2 separate regions of the Homo sapiens genome follow, and region 2 is linked to region 1. The links are contacts of gene promoters, found by promoter capture Hi-C in human tissues and cell types (Jung and others, 2019). All regions are on one chromosome and are shown on one strand. The core of a region is centred on a gene start or on the middle of the fragment in contact, and the rest is flanking DNA. Distances in the headings are between cores, read along the strand shown.

Region 1 (6,764 bases), core at 137-2,636:
AGCAGCAGCGCTAGCCTCTGAATCAGGGCTTTGACTGTGTGTGTGTGTGTGTGTGTGTGTGTGTGTGTGTGTGTGTCCGCGCGCGCGTGTGTGTTGGGGGATCGGGGGAGGGTTAGTTATATATTTCGATTCTCTCCACCGAGTCCCGGATCACGCAGACCACCAGGGGCTGGAGAGTGCAGCACTGGAGAAACCCTCCTTCTCCCTCGCCCCCTTGGCCCCAGCGGTGGGTGCTCTGGGGCTGCAGCTCCCGACCCGCGGCGGTGGAGTCCCGAGATTGGGGTGAGCGCGTGCGTGCGTATGTGCACGCGGGCGCGCGCCGAGTGGATAACGCGCTTCCCTGCTAGCCCCCAAACCCGGCGGACACTCACAGCACCAGAAGCACAACACGCCCTGGCCCAGGTGGCACACATATGCCGACATGCATCCAGCACACACAACACAGCAGTCAGTCTCCCCAAACAGCACCCGCTACCAACCCAGCATGCTCACGATCCAACTGTACCCACCTGCCCAGGCATCTCTCTCTGCCCCTCCCCACCCGGCGGCACCCTCCTGTAGACACCCACTCTGCCAGATCTGCCCCCCCAACACTGCATACACAATGTACACTTTCCGGGGCACCCTCACCCCACTTCTCCTGGCACTAAATCCACAGGAAGGCGGTTCATATGAATGATCTTGAGAAATAACTTAACCCCGTTACTCACAATCAGGGATCCTCTTAGGGGCATCCCAAGCCCCCCAACCTCTACCTCCCATGTCTCGGCTGCCCGCTAAGGGGGAAGGGCAGGAGGCTCACCCCATTACTCACCGTTTCCTCTCGGCCTCCCGAGCGGAGTGGGCAAGGGAGGGGGGTGAGGAAGGTACGCGATGCCCCCGCCGCCCGGCGCCTCACCGGTCGCAGCGGCTCATCGCCCCCGCGGGCTGCCCGCCGGCCGCAGCCGCGTCCGGGGCATGTCAGTCCGCCGCCGCCGCCCTCCCGCCGGGGTTCGTGGGCTCGCAGCTGTCAGGGAGCTGCGGGGCAGCGCATCTGGAGCGCGGGGTCTGGGAGGGAGGGTGTCTGGGGCCAGGGCGAGGGGCCCCGGGAGGGGTCCTTCCGCACGGATTTCAGAAAGAGGGAAACCCCGACCCAGAGCGGTGACTGGAATCTACGCCCGGGAGAGGCCCGGAGTCCCGGCCGCGGGCGGCGGGGGATTCCTGCAGGAAGGGGCAGGAAGGCAAGCAGCCCGGCGCGCCCTGGCGGCTCCGAGGGACCTGGGCTCGGGCTTGCGGTCGCGTCGCCTGGGCTTTCCCTGGGCTGGGAGCGCGCCGGGTCTCCGCCTTGCACGCTGTCACCGCGGGAGACGTCTCGGCCTCGCCGCGCGCAGAGGGGACGCGCGGAGAGGCTGGTTTCTGGGCGAGCGGAGAGCTTTGCCCATTAAGCTGCCGGAAGAAGCCAAATCAAAAAGCCAATCTCCAAGCCTCCAAACGGAACGTCACCCTATCAGCTGGGAGACAGCGCCGCACTGACTGACAAGCCGCGCATATTTATCCTCGCGCGCGGAGGGGAGACTCTCAGAACGCTCCTCGACCAGCAGCGAGGAAGTCGAGCCCGCATCCCGCATCCCGCATCCCGCATCCAGAGCCCCCGAGGGACGAATTCAGATCCAACCCCTGCCCCGCGGCCACCCACCCTAGTCGTTGGAGCCTGGCGCCCGCGCCTCCCGGCCGGCAGCACGTCAAAACGGCGGCGCGTCCTGACCTGGATTCCGCCGAGTTGGGAGCTCCAGGCAGCAGGCGGGCGCGCGGCACCGGCTTTCCCCTTGTCCTCAGGAGACGCTGCCTGCAATTCCGAAATTAAGTCTCCACCAAACACATCTGTGGTTTTTAAATATAGCAGGGAACTATTACCCAGGCAGGGTCCACCCAGGCCTAGGGGAGGAGTTGAGGGGGATGGAGATTGGCAGCGGAGGGAAAAGAAAACTCCTTTTTTCCCCCTCTTTTTTTCTTCTCTTCTTGGTGCAGAACCCAGCCTGTCATTTTCTCAACCCAAGTCAAACAACAGTTTGTGAGAGACGCTTGGGTGAGCTCTGGTATGTTGGCTTTTCGGGTTTCTAAAGCTAAAAATAAGAGGGGGCTGCCTCCCAAATTGCTGCTTACTCTGGGCCTGGAGGCTGGAAGAGAGCTGGTCCTTTGATGCAGCAGCGGGACTAGGGCTTGGGGCTTGGCTCAGGCGAAGTGTACACACGTAGCCTTAAATCAGATGCCTGTAATTTCTGCTATATTTGTCAGGCTTGGTCCTAGAGGCATGCGGGGTGGGCAAGCCACTCCTAAGAATGGGGTTTCAAGCCCTCAGCTTATCGGTGGCATTAGGCAGATCTAAAATGAGCCTGGTGGCTGGCCTTCTGTAGCGACACCAGTGCAGAAAAGTCAGAATGTAAGGGCAGGAAGTTGTTCTCTTTCAGGCCTCTCTGCTGCCTGAGGCTAAGTGTGAGGGGCCAACAAATGATAATAATACTTACCAAATAGCAGCACCTTTTAAGGGCCAGGAGTGGTGCTAGTGAATTTGATTGTATTACCTCATGCCATCCTACTAAAACTCTGTGAGCTAGGTACAATTACCAACTCCATTTTTTTGTTGAGGAAATTGAGCCTTAGGTTAAATAACCATCCCAAGGCCACGTGCAGCAGAGCCAAGGATTGAAATAAAATGCAACCAACCGGAGTTGTGCTGAGACGTCAACAGTGTGTGTGACTCCTGAGATCCCTGGCTCCTTTGCCCGGCTGCTCTGGAGCAAGGCTTGGTTCAAACAGATTAAGGGGGTGTAGAGACTAGGGAATCTCTAAGCCTGAGATGGCAGGAGGTCTTTGCTGGTCCTTTGACTCAGTGTTCCGTTAGCAAGCTGTGTGGTGGTTTCTGGCCTGAGTCCGGAGTCAGAATCCTGGATGTGCTCAGTAGGAGCAGTAGGAGTGCTTTCAGACCCCTGAACCTTTATGGGTCTTGAATTTCATTTAAAGTTAGGGCTGGGACTGACTTTGAAAGGTTTCAATAGCTTCTAAAGTTGTGGGATCTCAGGATATGTCAGTTACTGGGACTTACCTTGTGTCTGCTCCCGTGGAGAGTCACAATGCTGAGTCTACACATTGAGAGTCTACAGTAGAGACAAAGAGATGGCTAATGGGCACCTAAATTGATAGAGTTTTTAGGTAGGGCAATTTTGAAAGATACATCAAATTCCTTAAAAACGTGAATGCCTGTGACCCAGTAATTTTACTGGAAGAAATTTATTCTATGGCAATCATTAAGGATATGCTCAAATATTTAGTTACAAGGATATTCATGGTAGTGTTTTTAAGAGTGAAAAATTGGAAACATCTTAATTTTCCAACACAACAAATTGGTGAAGTAAACATGTTTTGTTGACATAATGCTGTATTCTACCACTGTAAAAATACAGATGCAGCATTCTGTGTACTGGTGTGGAAAGGTTTTTATAATATATCGTAGACAGAGAGAAAAAAAACCCCAGAACACAGTGTAACACAGCATGTGCGGGGGTGGCGGGGTGGGGATGAATGCCCTGGCAGCATAAAAACCCCAAAATGGTAGTGGTTATCTCTTGGTGGTGGGATTTCTGGTGATTTTGTTTCTCTTTGTATCAATCAACTTTATTGAGGTGTAATTTACATACAACAACTCACCTTTTTTCTGATCTATGCTTTATGAAGGCATCAAAAGCAAGGTCTAGTGCACAGGCTAAATGACTATCTCAGTAGTGAGGAACATGAATCTGCAAAACTATCCCAGTAGTGAGGAACATGAATAATATTTCAAGATACCTGCAAAAACTAACTGATGATATTAAAATATCTGACATTTCTAATGGAGATAAAGTTACAGGTATCCAAACATCACTACTACTACTAAAAACTCACCTGTTTTAAGTGTATAGTTTGAAGAGTTTTTATACAAGTACATACATGTAGAGCAACAACCTCAGTCAAGACATAGAACATTTTCATCTCCCCCAGAAGTCCTCTCAGGCCCCTTTATACTCATCCGCTCTTCCCACAGGCAACTATTGATCTGCTTTCTGTCACTGTGGCTTAGTTTTGCTTGTGCCAGAATTTTATTTGTTTGCTTGTTAATATCTATTGATATATTTTCAGTGAACATTACCTATTCACTAAAACTGAACCAGCAACAACAACAGAATTGGTCATGTCATTTTTTTAGAACTACCAAACAAAACAGACAGGAACCTTGTCTTCCTCTTGTCACCTGTGACAGGGCAATGCTGCGGGGAGGAAGGCAAGAGGTGCCAAAGCATGTTCAACCAACGCTGTCGGCAGAGCTGACTTGCGTAGGTTCCTCTGAGTTCTAGGTAGACTGAAATAGCAAAGCCCAGCTCTGCATTCTGAGCCTCAGTGTCCTCACCAGTAAAATGGGAATAATAATAATTATTATTATTAATAATAATAATAATTATTATTATTATTATTAATTATTATTATTAATAATAATAATACCCACCTCGTGAGGTTGTTGTGAAGCTTCAGTGAGATTACAGTTTCTGGTACAGACCAATCCCCAAATATATATCAATTCTCCTTCTCCCCTACTTTTGTTCTCCCCCAACCCTGCTTCTCTCCCATCTTAAGTTCTACAGCCAACCTTCACGTGGCCTATGAAGTCTCAGACTGCTTTCAACTCTGGACATTCTCACTTCTTTTTTTCTCCCCACTACATGCATACAGGGTTGGAAAACATTAAATGTAATGACACCGTACTTGCATTTCTGCCATTGTTACTTATATCTAGCTGTACTGGAACCCAAGGAGATGTTCACAAGGAAGATGGAAAGTAAGCTGTGTAACATCAGCATTGGGAGCAAGAGCCACAAACCTCATTTTCAAGTTGGGAAGAAACTCAGGACCCGAGAAGCTACAGGATTCAGCCCAGTCACAGAGCTTGGTAAGAACTAGACAGACTCTTTTATGGACTGAATTGTGTGTCCCAAAACTTGTGTGTTGAAGCCCTAGCCCTTAGTACCCAGAATGTGCCTGGGTTTTGAGACAGGGTCTTTAAAAAGGTAATAAAATTAAAACAGTGCCGTCAGTGTGGGCCCTAATCCACTATGACTGCTATCCTTATAAGAAGAGGAGATTAGGACACAGACAGACAGAGGGACAACCTTGTGAGGACACAGCGAGAAGGCAAGCCAAGGAGAGAGAAATCAAATGTGCTGACACCTTGATGTGGGAGTTCTAGGCTCCAGAACTATGAGAAAATAATTTCTGTTAGTTAAGCCACTCAGTCTTTGGTATTTTGTCATAGTAGCCCTAATTCTGTGAGTCCTTGTCATAGAATACCCTTTCTCTAGAGGCTGAGCAGCAAGTAATAGGGCAGATGGGATGAATAGTGGGAAGGGACCACATGGCTTCTTGGTGGGGCCCCAGTATTTGCCATTATGCTGCAGAACTCCACAAGTCAGTGCCTCTCCAAAAGCGGGGCCTCAGGCACTTCATAAGCAGACGACCTGCCAGTCCTGGCCACCAGTGGCACTGCATCCCACACAAGCCACAGTGTCTCTTCTCACAAGCAACCTAGGTGCCAGCATTCCACAGCCCTTGGACTATACAATCTGATAGCAGTTGAGAAACAACAGCAGTCAAGTGGAAGCTAAAAGTAAGTTCTGGAACAGCTCTGTAGGGAGGATGGAAGTTTAGTAAACCCTGTCTGATAATAGGGTATTTATTTAGTGAGACATAATTCTTCCCTATGCGTTATATTATTTTTAATCTCATTATAACTTGTATTTCAAAAATTTGTCAATTATTTATTTTTCCTTTTATAAAGTTTATTGCAGTAGGATATACATACAGAAATGTGCACAAGTCATGACTATAGCTCAAAGAATTTTCACAATGTGAATATATTTTATTTAATCATCATCCAGAACAATAAATATTACCAGTACCCCAGCAGCTCCCCTCGTGCCTCTCCCAGCGATGCTTCTTCCTCTTCTCCAGAGGGAACGGCTCTCCTGACTTCTAAAACCACACATTAATCTTATGTGACTTTGAACTCTACGTAAATGGAAGCAGATGGAAAGTACTGTTTTGGGGGTTCTTTGCTCAGCATAATTTTGGTGATGTTCATTCATATTGTTGTGTGTAGCAGCAATTTGTGATTTTTCATTTATGTATAGTTTCCTTTGAATGAATATGCAACTCAACTTTTTATTCTGCTCTTGATATCTAAATTGTTTCTGGTTTTTTATTTTTTGAATAATGCTGCTGTGAACATTTGCCTACACTCTCCCTCTCCAAGATTGTTTGATCACATTCTTCTCAGCACTTAGTATTGTCAGACTACTTAAAATTAGTCATTCTGGTGGGTATAAATTTGACTTTAATTTGTGGCTTTAATTTGCACTTTTAAAAAATTTTACTTTAAATTCTGGGATACATGTGCAGAACATGCAGGTTTGTTACATAGGTATACATTGCCCTGGTAGTTTGCTGCACCCATCAACCCATCATCTAAGTTTTAAGCCCCGCATGCATTAGGTATTTGTCCTAAATGCTCTCCCTCCCCTGGCCTCCCAAATACTGACAGGCCCCCATGTGTGATGTCCCCCTCCCTATGCCTTCTCATTGTTCAACTCCCACTTACAAGTGAGAACATGTGGTGTTTGGTTTTCTGTTCTTGTATTAGTTTGCTGAGAATAATGGCTTCCAGCTTCATCCATGTCCCTGCAAAGTATATGAACTCATTC
Region 2 (6,764 bases), core at 1,217-3,716, 120 kb after region 1:
CCAACTATGTGGTCAATTTTGGAATAAGTGCCATGTGGTGCGGAGAAGAATGTATATTCTGTTGATTTGGGGTGGAGAGTTCTGTAGAAGTCTATTAGGTCTGCTTGGTGCAGAGCTGAGTTAAAGTCCTGGATATCCTTGTTAACTTTCTGTCTCATTGATCTGTCTAATGTTGACAGTGGAGTGTTAAAGTCTCCTATTATTATTGTGTGGAAGTCTAAGTCTCTTTGTAGGTCTCTAAGGACTTGCTTTATGAAGCTGGGTGCTCCTGTATTGGGTGCATATATATTTAGGATAGTTATCTCTTCTTGTTGAATTGATCCCTTTACCATTATGTAATGGCCTTCTTTGTCTCTTTTGATCTTTGTTGGCTTAAAGTCTGTTTTATCAGAGACTGGGATTGCAACCCCTGCTTTTCTTTTGCTTTCCATTTGCTTGGTAGATCTTCCTCCATCCCTTTATTTTGAGCCTATGTGTGTCTCTGCACATGAGATGGGTCTCCTGAATACAGCACACTGATGATGCGTCTTGACTCATTATCGAATTTGCCAGTCTGTGTCTTTTAATTGGGGGCATTTAGCCCATTTACATTTAAGGTTAATATTGTTATATGTGAATTTGATCCTGTCATTATGATGTTAGCTGGTTATTTTGCTTGTTAGTTGATGCAGTTTCTTCCTAGCATCAATGGTCTTTACAATTTGGCATGTTTTTCCAGTGGCTGGTACCAGTTCTTTTTCATGTTTAGTGTTTCCTTCAGGAGCTCTTGTAAGGCTGGTGGTGACAAAATCCCTCAGCATTTGCTTGTCTGTAAAGGATTTTATTTCTCCTTCACCTATGAAGTTTGGCTGGATATGAAATTCTGGGTTGAAAATTATTTTCTTTAAGAATGTTGAATATTGGCCCCCACTCTCTTCTGGCTTATAGAGTTTCTGCTGAGAGGTCCGCTGTTAGTCTGATGGGCTTCCCTTTGTGGGTAACGCGACCTTTCTCTCTGGCTGCCCTTAACATTTTTTCTGTCATTTCAACCTTGGTGAATCTGACAATTATGTGTCTTGGGGTTGCTCTTCTCAAGGAGTATCTTTATGGCATTCTCTGTATTTCCTGAATTTCAATGTTGGCCTGCCTTGCTAGGTTGGGGAAGTTCTCCTCGATAATATCCTGAAGAGCGTTTTCCAACTTGGTTCTCCCCGTCACTTTCAGGTACACCAATCAGACGAAGATTTGGTCTTTTCACATAGTCCCATATTTCTTGGAGGATTTGTTCGTTTCTTTTAACTCTTTTTTTCTCTAAACTTCTCTTCTCACTTCATTTCATTCATTTGATCTTCAGTCACTGATACCCTTTCTTCCATTTGATCAAATCGGCTGCTGAAGCTTATGCGTGCATCATGTAGTTCTTGTGCCATGGTTTTCAGCTCCATCAGGTCATTTAAGGTCTTCGCTACGCTGTTTATTCTAGTTATCCATTTGTCTAATCTTTTTTCAATGTTTTTAGCTTCTTTGCGATGGGTTTGAACATCCTCCTTTAGCTCAGAGAAGTTTGTTTTACTTACTGATCTTTTGAAGCCTACTTCTGTCAACTTGTCAAAGTCATTCTCCGTCCAGCTTTGTTCCATTGCTGGTGAGGAGCTGCATTCTTTTGGAGGAGAAGAGGTGCTCTGACTTTTAGAATTTTCAGCTTTTCTGCTCTGGTTTCTCCCCATCTTTGTGGTTTTATCTACCTTTGGTCTTTGATGATGGTGACCTACAGATGGGGTTTTGGTGTGGATGTCCTTTTTATTGATGTTGATCCTATTCCTTTCTGTTTGTTAGTTTTCCTTCTAACAGTCAGGACCCTCAGCTGCAGGTCTGTTGGAGTTTGCTGGAGGTCCTCTCCAGACCCTGTTTGCTGGGGTATCACTAGCGGAGGCTGCAGAACAGCAAATATTGCAGAACAGCAAATGTTGCTGCCTGATCCTTCCTCTAGAAGCTTCGTCTCAGAGGGGCACCCGGCTGTATGAGGTGTCAGTCGGCCCCTACTGGGAGTTGTCTCCCAGTTAGGCTATTCGGGGGTCAGGGACCCACTTGAGGAGGCAGTCTGTCAGTTCTCAAATCTCAAACTCCGTGCTGGGAGAACCACTACTCTCTTCAAAGCTGTCAGACAGGGACGTTTAAGTCTGCAGAAGTTTCTGCTGCCTTTTGTTCAGCTGTGCCCTGACCCCAGAGGTGGAGTCTACAGAGGCAGGCAGGCCTCCTAGAGCTGCAGTGGGCTCCACCCAGTTCAAGCTTCCCGGCCGCTTTGTTTACCTAGTCAAGCCTCAGCAATTGCAGACGCCCCTCCCTCAGCCTCACTGCCACCTTGCAGTTCAATCTCAGACTGCTGTGTTAGCAGTGAGCAAGGCTCCATGGGCATGGGACCCTCCCAGCCAGGCATGGGATATAATCTCCTGGTGTGCCGTTTGCTAAGACCATTGGAAAAGCGCAGTATTAGGGTGGGAGTGTCCCGATTTTCCAGGTACCGTCTGTCACGGCTTCCCTTTGCTAGGAAAGGGAATTCTCCGAACCCTTGTGCTTCCAGGGTGAGGCGATACCCCGCCCTTCTTTGACTCACACTCACATGGGCTGCACCCACTGTCCAACAAGTCCCAGTGAGATGAACCTTGTACCTCAGTTGGAAATGCAGAAATACCCATCTTCTGTGTCACTCACACTGGGAGCTGTAGACTGGAGCAGTTCCTATTCGGCCATCCCTTTCTAACTCTTAAACACTGACAGCAATTAAAGCCTCATCTTCAGGCCCCATAGAAGATGCCAATCAAAATAAACTACCTTCTTGAGACACAGGCCCAGAAATTAAAGCCGTTCAACTCCACAAGGCCCAGGGACTATTGTGGAAGAGGTGGGCATGTGAGATTGTGAGGGCCGATTTTAAGAGATAAAATAAGTTCAGTTTCTCTACAAATTAACCATTAATGTCAAAGTCACACCTCTGCAAGACTAGCATATGGGTAAAATTTGAAAAACAAATTTAATTGGCTTCATGCTATTTTTATTAGGGCTTATTATTTGGAAAATTAAGTCTTCTCTCTCAAAGAATGAAGGTTTTCTCTTTTTTGAAATCCTTGAGTTATCACTTTGGTTAAATGAATGACTTACTTTACAATGGCCTGTAATCCCATTTTGTGATATCAAGTGTTTTATTTATTTATTATTATTATTATTATTATTACTTTTTAAAATGGAGTCTCGCTCTGTTGCCCAGGTTGGAGTGCAATGGCATGATCTCAGCTCACTGCAACCTCTGCCTCCTGTGTTCAAGCAATTCTCCTGCCTCAGCCTTCCAAGTAGCTGGGACTACAGAAGTGCACCACCACACCTGGCTAATTTTTTGTATTTTTAGTGGAGATGGGGTTTCACCATATTAGCCAGGCTGGTCTCAAACTCCTGACCTCAGGTGATCCACTCACCTTGGCCTCCCAAAGTGCTGGGATTACAGGAATGAGCCACCATGCCTGGCCTGGTATCAAGTATTTTAAACCTTTGATATTTGACAAACTTTCCAAAATCAAATTATACATTATGTCATTTCTGACCTAATTAATCCTTTAAGATATTATTAATAGGATCCCTAAAGTCAAAAAATGACATGTTTGGCTTATTTGATATAGAAATTATACAGGAAGCATTGTCAAATATGAAATGGTATTTGGTTTTTCTTTGGGCCGTATTTGTATAAATATGTTGCTGGTATGTGTTCCAAAATTATGGGAAACTCCTATAATTCTGATATGACTTAGTGTATGTTATCAGTAATAATTATAATTGTTATGTTAAATTATTGTGTGACACAGAGGTAACAAATTTCCTTGTCAATTGTGTCTTTGACTACGGCTGCCCTTCTTGTCTTGTTTTGGTCCTCTTTAGAAGGTGGTTTTATAATCAGCTATAAAACTCTTAACAGGTGCTCTTGAATGCAGTTTTCTGATAGCTTTGGAGATTGTGACATCAGAATAGAGGAGAAACTTTCAGGGCTCATAGAGAGTTGAAATGCTCCTGAATAACAAACAGAATAGGAATTAAGTGCATGGACTAAACTAATAGAATAAAACGTTGCTGATCCTTTGTTTTGTTTTTCAGAGTCAAAAAGACTTTTAAGCTATTTACAGCTTTTAACAATTGAGTAAAGTATATTCCCTTTGTTTCTCTCTACCTGATTTCTACATAATTTGGGAACTATTTGTGAATATTCTTTTTTTTTTTTTTTTTTTTGAGATGGAGGCTTGCTCTGTCACCCAGGCTGGAGAGCAATGACACGATCTCAGCTCACTGCAACCTCCGCCTCTCGGGTTCAGGCAATTCTGCTGCCTCAGCCTCCCGAGTAGCTAGGACTACAGGCACCCACCACCACGCCTGGCTAATTTTTATATTTTTAGTAGAGGCGGGGTTTCACCATATTGGCCAGGCTGGTCTCAAACTCCTGATCTTGTGATCCACTCGCCTCGGCGTCCCAAAGTGCTGGGATTACAGGTGTGAGCCACTGCACCTGGCCTGTGAGTATTCTTAATTTATGATAATAGTTATTTGCATAAGTACAATAAGAATCTGTTTTCATTTGTAACAGGACACAATTGGAGAAACTGGTTATTTTACCAAGGCTTTGACTGGAATGGTGTGCTTTCCTTTAAGGAATCAAACTTGACTTATGGAGCCAATATAAGCCCCTTGGAAAAACTGGCCTTATATCTTTGTCTACACAGTCCCTGTACAGGGTTCCTGACCTGTGGTAAGTAAAGAATGTCACTTTCTGACAGGCTCAGGAGCCCCAAGTTTATCTTGGAACCTGAAGAAGAGAGGAATTCACCCAACTCATAAGTATTTGATGGTCCAAATCCATGGCTGGGCTCAGCTTTAAAAAAGTCTTATGTGAGATTCCTTCTATGGAACAAAATTCCATCAAAGCCAATTTAAAAGCCTATGTAAAAAATAAATAATTATTCTTGCTGCACTATATACAAATAATCAAGCCAAGTATAATAAAGCAAATCAGTCCTACCATGATTTGTCTTTTGTAAAAATGGAAAACTAGAGAGAGAAAAATTATATTTCAAAAACTGTAGTACACTTAATATGGTTTGGCTGTGTCCCCACCCAAATCTCATCTTGAATTGTAGCTCCCATAATTCCCACACGTTGTGGGAAGGACCTGGTGGGAGATAATTGAATCATGTTGTGGGGGGCAGTTTCCCCCATACTGTTCTCATGGTAGTGAATAAGTCTCATGAGATCTGATGGTTTTATAAGTGGAAATCCCTTTTGCATGGTTCTAATTTTCTCTTGTCTGCCGCCATGTAGGACATGACTTTTGCCTTCTGCCATGATTGTGAGACCTCCCCAGCCACATGAAACTGTGAGTCCGTTAAACCCCTTTTTCTTTGTAAATTACCCAGTCTTGGGTATGTCTTTATCAGCAGCATGAAAATGGATGAATACAACACCTGTTGTTAGATTCTAGTCTTGTCTAATGTTTTTCAATTTTTATTATTTTCTACAGTTTGGACTGAATTCTAATTTTTCTTGGCTACAAGCCTGCAAAATAATGTTTTCCATTTTTTCCTTCTTTTTTTCCCCCATTTTTCCTAATTTGGAACCACCAAAAACTAAGCTGTGCTTTTGTAAAGCCCTGTGAACTGAAGCTAGACAACTAAACTTCAGAAGAAAGTAACAGCAACCTGTTTACATACATAAGCCACTTTCATACCTGCCTACTGATATATGGACTTCATAGTAATGTGGCCTATATTGATTTCCCAGGATTGTTCTTTAGTTTGATGTTGCTTTTCTCCCTTCCTCCCCCTATTTTCTCTTCATAGAATATAAGACTTCACAACCTGCTGAAAATGAGCTTTCCTAATAACTCGGGACCTACCTGTCTAGGAATAAACCATCCTAAACATGAAAGATCAGAGAAAATGTGAGACCAGAGACTCATTTTCTTCTAAAGTCCTTTCTCCAAAAGATTTTTAAAAAGATAAAGGGGGAAATTTGAAAGGAAAATAAATCTTGGGGCCCCCAAATCACTAAGCTAAAGGGAAAAGTCAAGCTGGGAACTGCTTAGGGCCAACCTGCCTCCCATTCTATTCAAAGTCACCCCTCTGCTCACTGAGATAAATGCATATCTGGTTGCCTTCTTTGGAAAGGCTAATCAGAAACTCAGAAGAAATGCAACCATCTGTCCCTTATCTGCCTATGACCTGGAAGCCCCCTCCCCACTTTGAGTCCTCCCGCCTTTGCTTTGAGTTGTCCCGCCTTTCCAGACCGAGCCAATGTTTATCTTCTATATGTTGATTGATGTCTCATGTCTCCCTAGAATTTATAAAACCAAACTGTGCTCTGATCACCTTTGACACATGTCTTCAGGACCTCCTGAGGCTGTGTCATGGGCATGCATCCTCAATCTTGGCAAAATAAACTTTCTAAATTAGCTGAGACCTGTCTCAGATTTTTGGGGTTCACAAGCATGTTATCCGTTAAGTGATAAGATCATAGAGAACTTAAGTGAACCCATTCTGCATACAAAATTCAGTGCATATTATGGCGAGTGGGAGTATCTGAACTTGTAGTTCATCTGGTTTTTACTTTACAAAGATAAGACTAACTCCGGTTAATTCCCATGTCTAGAGAAACACAATATAATTTGGCTCCGCACCTGAGATGCTCTCCAGCCATGATGGTAGAGTTCCTCATTCTAGGGATTATGGACCCAGGCCAAGCCTGCTCCTTGA

What was found. The method cuts DNA at HindIII sites, captures the fragments that hold promoters and counts their contacts. A contact is called where the count stands out against the background at its distance.
Region 2: a fragment that was not itself captured here is called in contact with the fragment with the promoter of SLC8A3 in region 1 in 2 of the 25 tissues and cell types used here (H1 embryonic stem cells and pancreas).

The regions. Positions count from the first base shown.
Region 1 is chr14:70,187,565-70,194,328 of GRCh38, forward strand. SLC8A3 (solute carrier family 8 member A3) reads right to left here and starts at 1,387. Exons shown (of 7, transcript NM_182932.3): 1 at 815-1,387. It also overlaps the pseudogene LOC646548. RefSeq lists silencers at 822-961, 1,032-1,361. The HindIII fragment of the contact is 13,926 bases long and covers 1-6,764 here.
Region 2 is chr14:70,308,466-70,315,229 of GRCh38, forward strand. LOC101928046 (a long non-coding RNA gene) reads left to right here. Exons shown (of 7, transcript XR_007064236.1): 5 at 5,335-5,389; 6 at 5,853-5,953; 7 at 6,661-6,764. Among named protein-coding and RNA genes, the nearest start is that of COX16, 48 kb to the right of the region's middle. The HindIII fragment of the contact is 4,589 bases long and covers 173-4,761 here.